Linked DNA regions of Homo sapiens: region 2 is linked to region 1. Evidence: promoter capture Hi-C in 16 types of primary human blood cells and fetal thymus (Javierre and others, 2016). All regions are on one chromosome and are shown on one strand. Each heading gives the region's core, a stretch centred on a gene start or on the middle of the fragment in contact. The rest is flanking DNA. Distances are from core to core; before and after follow the strand shown. Region 1 holds the start of ZHX1 (zinc fingers and homeoboxes 1). Region 2 has its middle 27 kb from the start of LINC01151.

Region 1 (5,262 bases), core at 809-3,308:
GAAAACTTGTCATTAACTGTGTAGACAAAAGAATGAATTTCTCTATTTGAAGCATTTCCAGACCTCTTCCTCGGTCTAAAGAGGTTCCCAGCGAGGGCAGTACTGCCCCTCAGGGGCATACTGAAATTTTGCCGGGACAGTTTTTGTTTTGCATTCTATTGGTGGCAGAGTATTTACATTGTGAAAACTCTGTTATTTTAAAATTTTTCTTGATATTAGTACATACAGTATTTTATTATGAACTACTTTCTCCTTTTTCACCTTTATTAGAACATTACATTGGTTTCTTGAAATTATTTGTAGAGATAGTTTGCATTAGGAATTTAACTCCAGAAGAGTAAAGCAGTGTTATATTTTTTGTTGTAAATACAGGGCATTGAATGTGGCAGGGTTGAATACCTTTGCTTATAAAATTAAGCCTTATCCTACACAAGTTTTAGGATTCCAGGATGAAACCTACAAATAAAAAGAATATTGTAGAACACTGATTTCAACGATCAGATTCCACGGCCAGGCGCGGTGGCTCACTCCTGTAATCCCAATACTTTGGGAGGCCGAGGCTGGCGGATCACTTGAGTTCAGGGGTTCAAGACCAGCCTGGCCAACATGGCGAAACCCTGTCTCTACCAAAAATACAAAAATTACCCCGGCGTTAGGTGACGGGCCCCTGTAATCCCAACTACTCGGGAGGCTGAGGCAGGAGAATCGCTTGAACCCGGGAGGCAGAGGTTGCAGTGAGCAGAGATCGCGCCATTTCACTTCAGCCTAAGCGACAACGCGAGACTCCGTCTCAAAAAAAAAAAAAAAATCAGACTTCCACTTGAAGCAATTGCATCTTTTAGGATTAATGTGGCTCAGCGGAGCTCTGCTGTGCTTTTAGGATTACTGTGGCTCAGCGGAGCTCTGCACAAAGGGTCCGCGACTGGGATGGGGGTGGGGAGTGAACGTCAAGGGGCCCAGGAGCGCTCGAGCGTCCAAGGCCCGGCGTGTGGAGCAGCTGGAGGGTGAGTCGCCGCTCTCCGCTTTGGTTCTGTTCCTCCACGTTCTGACCGCGGTGCGGGGGAAAGGGAAAGTGAGTAGGGAGGGGCGGAGACGCCGGGCAGTGTTCCCGAAACCCCTGGCCCTCGCTGGCCCCGCTGCGGGGCTGGTTCCCTGAAAGCCGACGGGATGTGAAGCCCTCGACTCGGACAGAAGCCTCTGGAAGAGCGAGTGGCGGTTCGCAGGGAGGAGGGCGGCTGAGGGGCAGAGGGCGGCTCCGCCTTGCCCGGCGGTTCTGAGTGCAGCTGAACTGAACTTTCGGTGTCAGCGGGTGGAGCTGCGGCCCGCGGAGGAGCGGGGTCCGAAGCGAGGAGAGGTGGAGCTGCCGCTGACAAGGGGCGCGGCGACTTCTGTCAGGGCGCTGGGCTCCCGGCCGGACTCGCAGCAGCCCCCCGAGGGGCGGGGCCTGGGTCGTGTCGCCCCAGGGGATGGGCGTGTGATGACAAGGGGCGTTTCAGTAGAAGCCAGCATGCTTACCTCTCACGATCCAGCAGTGACATTAGGAAGGCGGAGCGCAAGGAAGGCGGGGCTGCCTTCTGTGCTGACCCGAGAGAAGACCAGGCTTCAGTCCACAGCGGGCGGAGCGGTCGCAGGCAAAGGGCGGGGCCATTTCGAGCCCTGGGAAGGCGGGGCGTCTCCTGACAGGGGGCGGAGCTTCCGCAGTCTGGGGCGGGGCTTCTGTTGACAGGGGGGCGGGGCGCCTCCCTACCTCCCGCGGTGCGCCAATCCCCGGACTAGGGGCCGGGGTCGGACCCCAGTGGAGTAGCAGGGTCTGGGCGTGGAGAGCTCGGCGCCGCACGGGGTGGGGGCGCGCGGAGGACGCGCGCGCGGGAGGGCCCCGCCTTGGCCGGCTCTCTCCCTTCCCCCTCCGCCCCCGGACGGCCGCTGGGGCGCGCGCCTCTCCTCGCACCCCCACCCTGAGTCCCCACACTCCGCGGGGCCACCGAGCTGCTGAGGCCCCTTTGCGGGCCCGCCGAGCGGTTCCGGGTTTAGGGTTCACAGGTCAGAGTTGACTCCCTGAAAAGTGCAGCCGGTTTGAAATGCAAGATGGCGGCGGCGTGGCGCTGAGAGGCGCGGCGGCCCCTGCAGGTAGTGGCGCGAGCCGGCTCCGCGACCAGCGGGCCCGGAGACTCTGGGCTGCGGGTGGGAACTGGAGCGCAGAGTCCGCGGCCGGCACGGGAAAGGCGAGTAGCGCGGGGCCTGGCGGGAGGAGGGCAGCCTCACAGCAGAGACCCCTGGGGCTGAGCCCGCTCGCGGCGGCGGGTGGCGGGGTGGACCCGGCGTGGGGCGTCCGAGGGGGAGGGACGGGGCCTGCCTCGCGGCTGGGTAGTCGCCGCAGAGGGACAGACAGACCCACAGCCTCCCTCGCTCTTTTTGGGTGTCTCCGCCACCGAAAGAGCTTGGGGGCGGGGGGCTCTCTGGAGGGAACATCTCAGCCCCCTGCCTTGGTGAGGACCCAGCAACTTAGGATTGTTGAGAGGAGTGAAGACTGCGTATTCCCAGCGGAGGGCGCCGCCGGAGGGAGCACCCCAGTAATGTTGGGAGTCCTAGAGGAGGTCAGGAGCGCTGTCCTCCGGGGGCGTGTGGCTGCCTCGTGGGGGACCCAGTCTCCCTGAGAGTAAGGAGAGATTCTCTTGCTGGAGCTGAGCGCACTGACTGAGGTTGGAGCCCCAGCAAACCCTTCAGGAGAAGTCTTTACCTCCAGTTCAAGGAAGGCTATGCGCACCCGTTTCGGGGCCAGGCCATGTCCCAACTTTGGGAAAGACTGGGAGTTGAGTCCTTAAGAACCATATTACGATTGTGACGAAGCCCTGGGATTTAGGGAGAAGTTAATTAAAGAGGATGGTAGGGGCGTGGGGGTGTGGGGGCTGACCCATGGGAATCCTCCAAGCCTTAGGGCCCACAGTGAACAATCTACTAATACCTCAAGGGGTATAAAAGGCTGGGAAGGAGAGGTGTGAGAGGAACAAGGTCTAAGGGCAGGAAAGAAGAGCCCTGGCAGATCCCCTTTCCTTATATATTTACACCAAAGTTGGAGGTAAAGGGACTTGGCAATTCTTTGTTTTAGTACCTTTCCTGTCCTCTCTCCTCCGTGGGTAACTGTAAGGAAAGAGCATAGCCCCTGAGAAGGAAAAGATTCCATTTGATATCCTTAGCTTAGGTTAGTGAAGGATCCAGCAGCTGGGAAGGCGTCAATGAGAGACAGCAGGCGGGGGAATTAGAACAGAGACTAGGGATGAGAAAAGAGGAATACAGGGAAGATATCGGACAGAGCAGGAATTCCACAGCCCTTTTCTGTCAACTCAGCCCAGCTATTAGAAAAAAAAAAAAATGCGAAGAGCTAATATTTGAGAGAAAAATGTAAAGGCTGAGAGAGAAGTCGTGATGTGATTAGGTTGGGATTCCATGTAACTTAAGCAGTTCTCTTGGAGGTTAATGTGATAGCAGAAAAAGGAAAATCACAAAATTGGAAAATATACAGCGGTTCACGGTTAGGGAGGAAGAAGCAGTCTCCCCCCAGGAACAGTGAATATTTGGTTTGGGGTGTGTGTGTGTGTTGTGTGTATACATATATAAGAGCACTTTAGATTTGCTGGTGTTGGTCATTGTTTCTCAGTCTTTGTCTGAAAGCTTTAATTTGTGTTATATGGTGCTACATTAATTATCTTCGTTTCTGAAAAATTATTCTGAAAAAGTCATTTGTTTTTATGTCGGGAGCGAAGGTGAGCAGGAGTTGGTTTTAACAGGGAAATTGGCCCTAGTATACCCATCGATTATTTTAATTTCTAAAGTAGCAATTCTGACTCCTGATTTTAAGCAAAAGAAATGTGAGTGCTGCCAATGACAATAATGCGGTAACAGGACATAAAAGAAAAAGGGCTTTCATGAATATTTTTTTCCTTTTAGCTTTTCTCTCCTTTCCCAAAGCATGTTAAGGCTAAGCAGACTAATTTTATACAAAGTAAAATGTATAATCGTGGACCTTTTCGATATAAAATGATAGCATTTCAGTTATCAATGAATCTTTTTTGTTGAAGTACCTCTTCAGACGCCTTATTTGACAATCAGGATTAAAATGAGAAAGGGTAATACTTGGGTAACTGATGATAGTGATGATTCATAGAGATTTCTTGAACCATTCTTGTATTTTCGAAAGAGCTTTAACGTCTTCAATGGAAATGTTTTAAAGATACAGTTCAAATAGAAACTAGTTTAGAACTTTACATTTGGAACATTTTATGCACGTGTGCTGTTCTTTGGTTTCCTCAATGTTCATGTAGCTCTGGTTTTATATTCAATTCTGAACAGATTAGGCTGGGTGAACCAGAGAGGCATTAATGCCAGATGGTTTGAAAATATGCTAAATCCGAAAACATAAATGTGCCTGTGCTAGTGAACACTCATTAGTGGATTTCTTTCCTTTATAGCTAAGCTTATTATTTCACCGGATTTGGGGGGTAGTTCATGCATGATGTAGCAATTATTTCACCTTTAATGATAATTGTAAGTTCTTTTTTTTTCAATAATTGGGGACAAAGTTTTACAGTTATTAGCGAAATTAATAGCATAGGAGAGGTGGTTCATTTTGAAGATTTTTCTCCCTTTTGTATTATTATATTTTATATTAAGATGGAAAGGTTATATTATGATGTATTATATTTCTTATGCTAATTAAGCATAAAATGTGATATTTGAGACTTAGTTTGCTGTAAATTATAACTTAATACTTAAATGAAAATGCTTTTAAAATTATTAAAATGATCACAAATGTAGCTGAGGAAATAACCCTTTTATTTGTGTTGCAGCATTGTGGATTTGGGCCCAAAGACTTTACTTAAATAAACAGTGTTGAAAGTTCAGCACCTAGTTTTTAATCTAATATCATAGTCAGTGCAATTATTCAGAGAGATTTTTGGAATTATCTATTGTACTGTTTATGGTGCTAGCCAGTAATACACATTTTTTAAATCATTATAAATATTTATTTATGTTGTGATAAGCACATTTACTGTTAAGACTAAATTTTTTGAACTTAAAATCCTTTTAAATAATCCTACGTAGTTTCAAAAGTAAGTTATAGTTCTGTTTTTAAAACTGATACTATCTTTAGAATAAGAGCCAATGTTTCTATACTATTATTGATAAATTTTATTGTATCCTTGTTGCTCTGATATATTTGTAGTCATCAATAACCAGATTTGCATGACTAAAGTTGCTGACTTA
Region 2 (5,280 bases), core at 1,271-3,770, 610 kb after region 1:
GGGGTTCAACTTCCTTAGGTCTGTTAAGTGAGTTATCACTGGTTCATCTGCTTCCTAGAGCCCCAGATTTTATTTGTTTATGTTCTTTCTGGTTATCTTTTTCATTGAGGTTTAATGCTTAAAAAAAATTTTCCAGCCGGGCACAGTGGCTCACACCTGTAATCCCAGCACTTTGGGAGGCCAAGGAGGGTGCATCACCTGAAGTCAGGAGTTCGAGAACAGCCTGGTCAACATAGGGAAACCCCATCTCTTCTAAAAATACAAAAATTAGCTAGGCATGATGGCGGGTGCCTGTAATCTCCGCTACTTGAGAAGCTGAGGCGGGAGAATCGCTTGAACCCAGGAGGTGGAGGTTGCAGTGAGCTGAGATCAGGCCAGTGCCCTCCAGCCTGGGTGACAGAGTGAGACTCCATCTCAAAAAAAAAAAAAATTCCTTTGCTGTAATATTTATTGGAATTTCTGGGAGGGAGCAGAAATAATGTTTATGTTCCATCCACCACTTTTAAGTGGAAGTCTATAATATCCTCTTACAGCATTGAACGATTTTATGGTGAGGGTGAGAAGATGTTTTAGCATGTGGCTCAAAGGAAATGGGAACAGCTTTTTCGGAATTGATAATAGATGTAGGAAGTTGGCATGGCTGCCTATCATTCTCTTAGATTAAAGCAGAGATCCTAGGGAAGAATTAGTGAGAAGGATGTCTTTTGAAAGCTTGACCAAAGTTTGGATTCCATTTCATACTTAGAGAAAGAGAATGAGGGATATCTGTATTTAGGAAGTACTGCACTGGTGATTTTGTGGAGACTCTATGCCAAGAACCCAGTTCATATTTCTAGGAGAGGTTGAAAACCGTAGGTCATCAATTCCTAGGCAGGTAGCAGTGCCAGGGCCCCTACAAACTTAACTGTAGTCAGGTTTTGACTTTTACATTGCAACCAACACCCACAGATCATTGATCTCTTTTTCAGGGGGTGGGGTGGGGTAGGGCCTGTAGCCATGGGGTTTATTATGTTAGAATTTGGACTGATGCTTTTGGGTGTAATGAATTGTGACTTGCTGAAATGGTTAGGGAAAAGGTTTATATAAAAGTCTCCTAATTAGCACCACAATGCTGGAAAAGGAGAAGAACAAAATTATATCAAGAGACCATGGACCATTAAAACAATTTTGTTGAAATTCACAACTGCTCTGAACTACTGCTACCACGACCACCACCACCGCTACTACTTATAATGGCAATTATTTATTAAGCACCTGTGAGGCTTCCAGCACCATTCTAAGTAATGGGCATACCTTCCCTCATCTGATTCACATACAAAAATGTATGAAGTATCATTTGCACAGGCAGTCAATAGTTAAGTGAATAACAATAACTAACACTTATTACAAGATTACTATATCCCACTCAATCTTCAAAGTTCTTCATATGCATGACTCATTACAGCCTCATAATAGCTTTACGAAATCAGTTCTTCATACTCACTATTTAATGGATAAAGAATCTGAGCCTCAGAAGGTTAAGGAACTTCTCCAAGGTCAGCTGTGGCAGATTTGGAGATAACCCAGGTTTGTATTACTCTTCCTATTCTACAAATAAGAGGAAGTGCCTGGATTCAAGAGGAGAAAAGCATATACCACATTTTGGGGAAATGGTAATAGAAAAATGAGGTAAAGTCCATCGGAGACACAGTTTTCTCTCTCAGAGTTTGGCCAAAAATTTGCCTGGTGTCTGAAATAGGCTAATGTATCAATAATCCTATGTAATATTTCCATAGTTCTTTGTTGTTTGGAAGGCATACTTGCAGTCGCAATCTGCTTTGGTCCTCACGATAACCCAGGAAAGTAGAAAATTCAGGGACTGCTGTCTCCATTTCACAGACAAGGAAACTGAACTCAAAAATTAAAATAATTTGCCCATATTCGCACAGACAGTAAGTGTGAAAATCTCAGGCATCATTTCTTCATTCATTCATTCAAAACAAATATAATTTTTTGAAGTCTACCATGTACCTGGCAGTGTTAAGAGTTCTGTGAATTTTAATAGTAAGTAAGAAAAAGTTCCTGTCCTTGTGAAATTTATGTTCTAGAAGGAGAGACGAACAACAAATAAAAAAAAATTGTAAAATATATTAATTGGTAGTGATAGGTGCTATTAAGTAAAATAAAGCTGAGGAAGGAGGTAGCAGGTGGCCAGGTGGGAAGAGGGAATGGACTATTTTAAACCAGATATGCAGGAAATCTTCTCAGATGGGCAACATTTGAGCAGGTGTCTGCTGGAAGCGAGGGAGTCAGCCATGCAAGTATCTGGAGGACAAACATCCCAGTCAGAGGGTTCAGCAAATGCAAGATCCCTGATGTTGGAATGAGGTTGGTATATTCAAGAAACAGAGAGAAAGCCAGTGTGGACTTCTCCATGTCAGAAAAGAGAGAGAGGAAGGAAATAAGAGATGTGGTCAGAGTGGTGAGCTAGAACTGAGCCATAAAGGGGTTTATAGACAAGATGAGAAAACTGGATCTTATTCTAAGTTAAGTGGAAGTCTTTGGAGGACTTGGAGTGGGGAAATGACATGATCTAATTTACCCTTGCAAAATATCCCTCTGAATACTATGTCGAGAATTTACTGGGTGGATGTTAGGGAGGGCGGTGACATGGAAGTAAAAAGCCAAGTGGGTAGGTGTATTCATTGGGATGGGCTGAGTAATTCCAAAGGAACAATGTTCCATGTTTTGCAGGTCTGTTCCACATTATCTTCACTCTAGGACCCAAGCTGATAAAGCAGCTCCCTCTGGAGCTATTGATGGTCTCATGGAAGAGACAAAAAAAGATCACAGTGAATCACATTCTGCTTCTGAACTCTTCTGCCTGGAAGTGACAAACATCATTTCCATCACATTTCACTGACCAAAGCAAGTCATGAGTGTAAGCCTAGTATCAGTGGGGTGGGGAAGGAGAAGCAAATTATTGGAAACCACAGGAGGTTATTGCAATAATAAGGCAAAAATGAAGCCAGTGGCTGGGTGCAGTGGCTCATGCCTGTAATCTTAGCACTTTGGGAGGCCAAGGCAGGTGGATCACTTGAGCTTAGGAGTTCAAGACCAGCCTGGGCAACATGGTGAAACCCTGTCTCTACAAAAAATAAAAAAAAAATTAGCCAGGCATGGTGGCATACACCTGTAGTCCCAGCTACTTGCGGGGCTGAGGCAGGAGCATCACTTGAACCCAGGAGCTCAAGGCTGCAGTGAGCTGTGATCTTACCACTGCACTCTAGCCTGGGTGACAGAGTAAGACCTTGTCTCAATAAAAAATAATGAAGCTGGCTTGGTCTAGAGTGGAAACAGTTGAGGTGGTAAAAGGACTTGCTGCTTGAATAAATGTGGGGTATGAGAAACGGAAGAGTTAAGACGGACTCCAGGGTTTTGGTCTGAACACCTTGGTGAAGGATTTGTACCACTTGCTGAGTTGTAGAAGTCTGAGGGAGGTGCAGGGTTAAGGGGAAAAATTAGGAATTCCATTTTGGACATTTCTAATAAGGGAAACAATGGATTTAAAGATAAAATGTGGGAGTCCTCAGCATGTAGACTGACTTTGAAGCCATGGACTGGATGAGATCACATGGAGAATGAGAGCAGAGAGAGGAAACAAGAAGGCTGAAAGTGAGCCTGGGGTCTGTCAGTCTATATAGGTCAGGAGGAAGAGGGGAATCCAGAGAGGGAGAGATGGAAGAGACAGATTGGGAAGAGGGGAAAAAAGAATGTGGGACTGCCTAGAAACCCAGTAAAAAAAAAGTGTTTCATGAAAAGAAGGATCAACAGTGTCAGTTGCTGCTATTAAGTAAGATGAGGATTAAAATCCATTGTTGGACTTGGTCAGATGCAGGCACTAGTGACCTTGACAGGCCATTGGTGACTTTGTTACATGGTGGGGGTAAAAGTCTGATTGAAATGGGTTGAGAAGAGCCCGAATGTTCTTCTGATTCCAAAGTCAATGCCTACCTTGTTTTGCTAAGCTGCATAGAAAGTTCTCGTGTGCAGGATGCAGTCACTGAAAATGTTGTAGAACTGAAGAATTTGTACCTCATTCTTGGAACCACTCAACCTGGAAGAACAACTCCCTACAAACGTGAAGGCAACTACCTGAGCATAACTGGTTCACTGCCTTTTCTTCTGGGAGTGTGTTGAGTAAAATTTGAACAGAAATATCTGTTTTTCCATCCAGGCTCTAGGCAAAGTCTCCTTCAATGATGGGGCATGGTACAAATTTGTTAGCTCCCTTAACTATGAAGACACAAGAAAAGGTTGGAAATTAGGATTAGGAAAAATAGAAGCTTATTGTTTACTGCCCAGCTTCAAGTACGGGAAATAAAACCTTTTTCCAAGAGCAATACATTGGATTAAATGAAGTAATTTTACTTCAGAATGATACTCCAAGGGGCTTTCCCAAGTAGTAAAACAGACAGCAAAAGCTCTGAAATAAAGTGAGAGAAAGGTGGGAAATGGAAAAGAAAATAAACATGCATCTATTACTGGGTGCATTTTTGTTTGGCCTGTAGGGCATTCCTGCTGACAGCCATTTCTGGCTGTGTATGAGATATGCCATGGAGACATGGGAGGACCAGATGGCACTTCTGAGCCTCACCCTCAGGTACTGATTGTATCCAAAATAAGCCAGGTTGGTAAGGCCAGGAAAACAAGACTTGGGGGATATTTTCTATAAACTGGAAAGACTTCCAACATCTTTCAAAGATGGTTATGGTTCTTGTCTCATAATCCTGTGCTCCCAGGCAATCGCAGTATTCCAAATATTTAATAACAAGTAAAGAAAAGGGCTTGAGTAATTGGAAGGAACTCCAGATCAATCAGAATAGAGGCTGACTGTATCCAAAATTTTAGCTAAATACTAGGCTTATTCCCTATGTCTAGTGAAAAGAGCATGGGTTCTACAGTTGGTAAAGGTTGAGTTCAATCTTGAATGCCTCTTAGAATCCTTTATTGCTCTGTGATTTGCTGAGCCTCATTTTCATCATATCTAAATGGAGGGAATACTATATCCTTGTACTATTTTGAAGATAAAATGAAATGTGTTTCAGTTGTCTATTGCTACTATATAACAAATCATCCAGAAAGCAACAATGATTCACCATTGCTTATGATTCAGTGGGTCAAGAATGCAGGCAGGTCTCAGCTGGGCAGTTCTTCTGTTCTGCTTGGTATACGCTAGGAGTCACTCATCCAGCTGTATCCATCTGGCAGCTTGGCTGGGCTGAAAGGTTCAGGAAGACC

Evidence for each region. Contacts are between HindIII fragments. The CHiCAGO score rates a contact against its expected background, and 5 or more counts as called.
Region 2: a contact is called between a fragment that was not itself captured here and the fragment with the promoter of ZHX1 in region 1, in 1 of 17 cell types (total B cells). The highest score is 5.9, in total B cells.

What each region holds. Positions count from the first base shown.
Region 1 is chr8:123,271,082-123,276,343 of GRCh38, reverse strand. ZHX1 (zinc fingers and homeoboxes 1) reads left to right here and starts at 2,058. Exons shown (of 4, transcript NM_007222.5): 1 at 2,058-2,127. It overlaps ZHX1-C8orf76 (ZHX1-C8orf76 readthrough), which reads left to right and starts at 2,058. Exons shown (of 6, transcript NM_001204180.2): 1 at 2,058-2,127. RefSeq lists an enhancer at 708-827 and silencers at 1,308-1,997, 2,198-2,397, 2,434-2,801. The HindIII fragment of the contact is 9,533 bases long and covers 1-3,671 here.
Region 2 is chr8:122,664,276-122,669,555 of GRCh38, reverse strand. No RefSeq gene overlaps it. Among named protein-coding and RNA genes, the nearest start is that of LINC01151, 27 kb to the left of the region's middle. The HindIII fragment of the contact is 3,614 bases long and covers 714-4,327 here.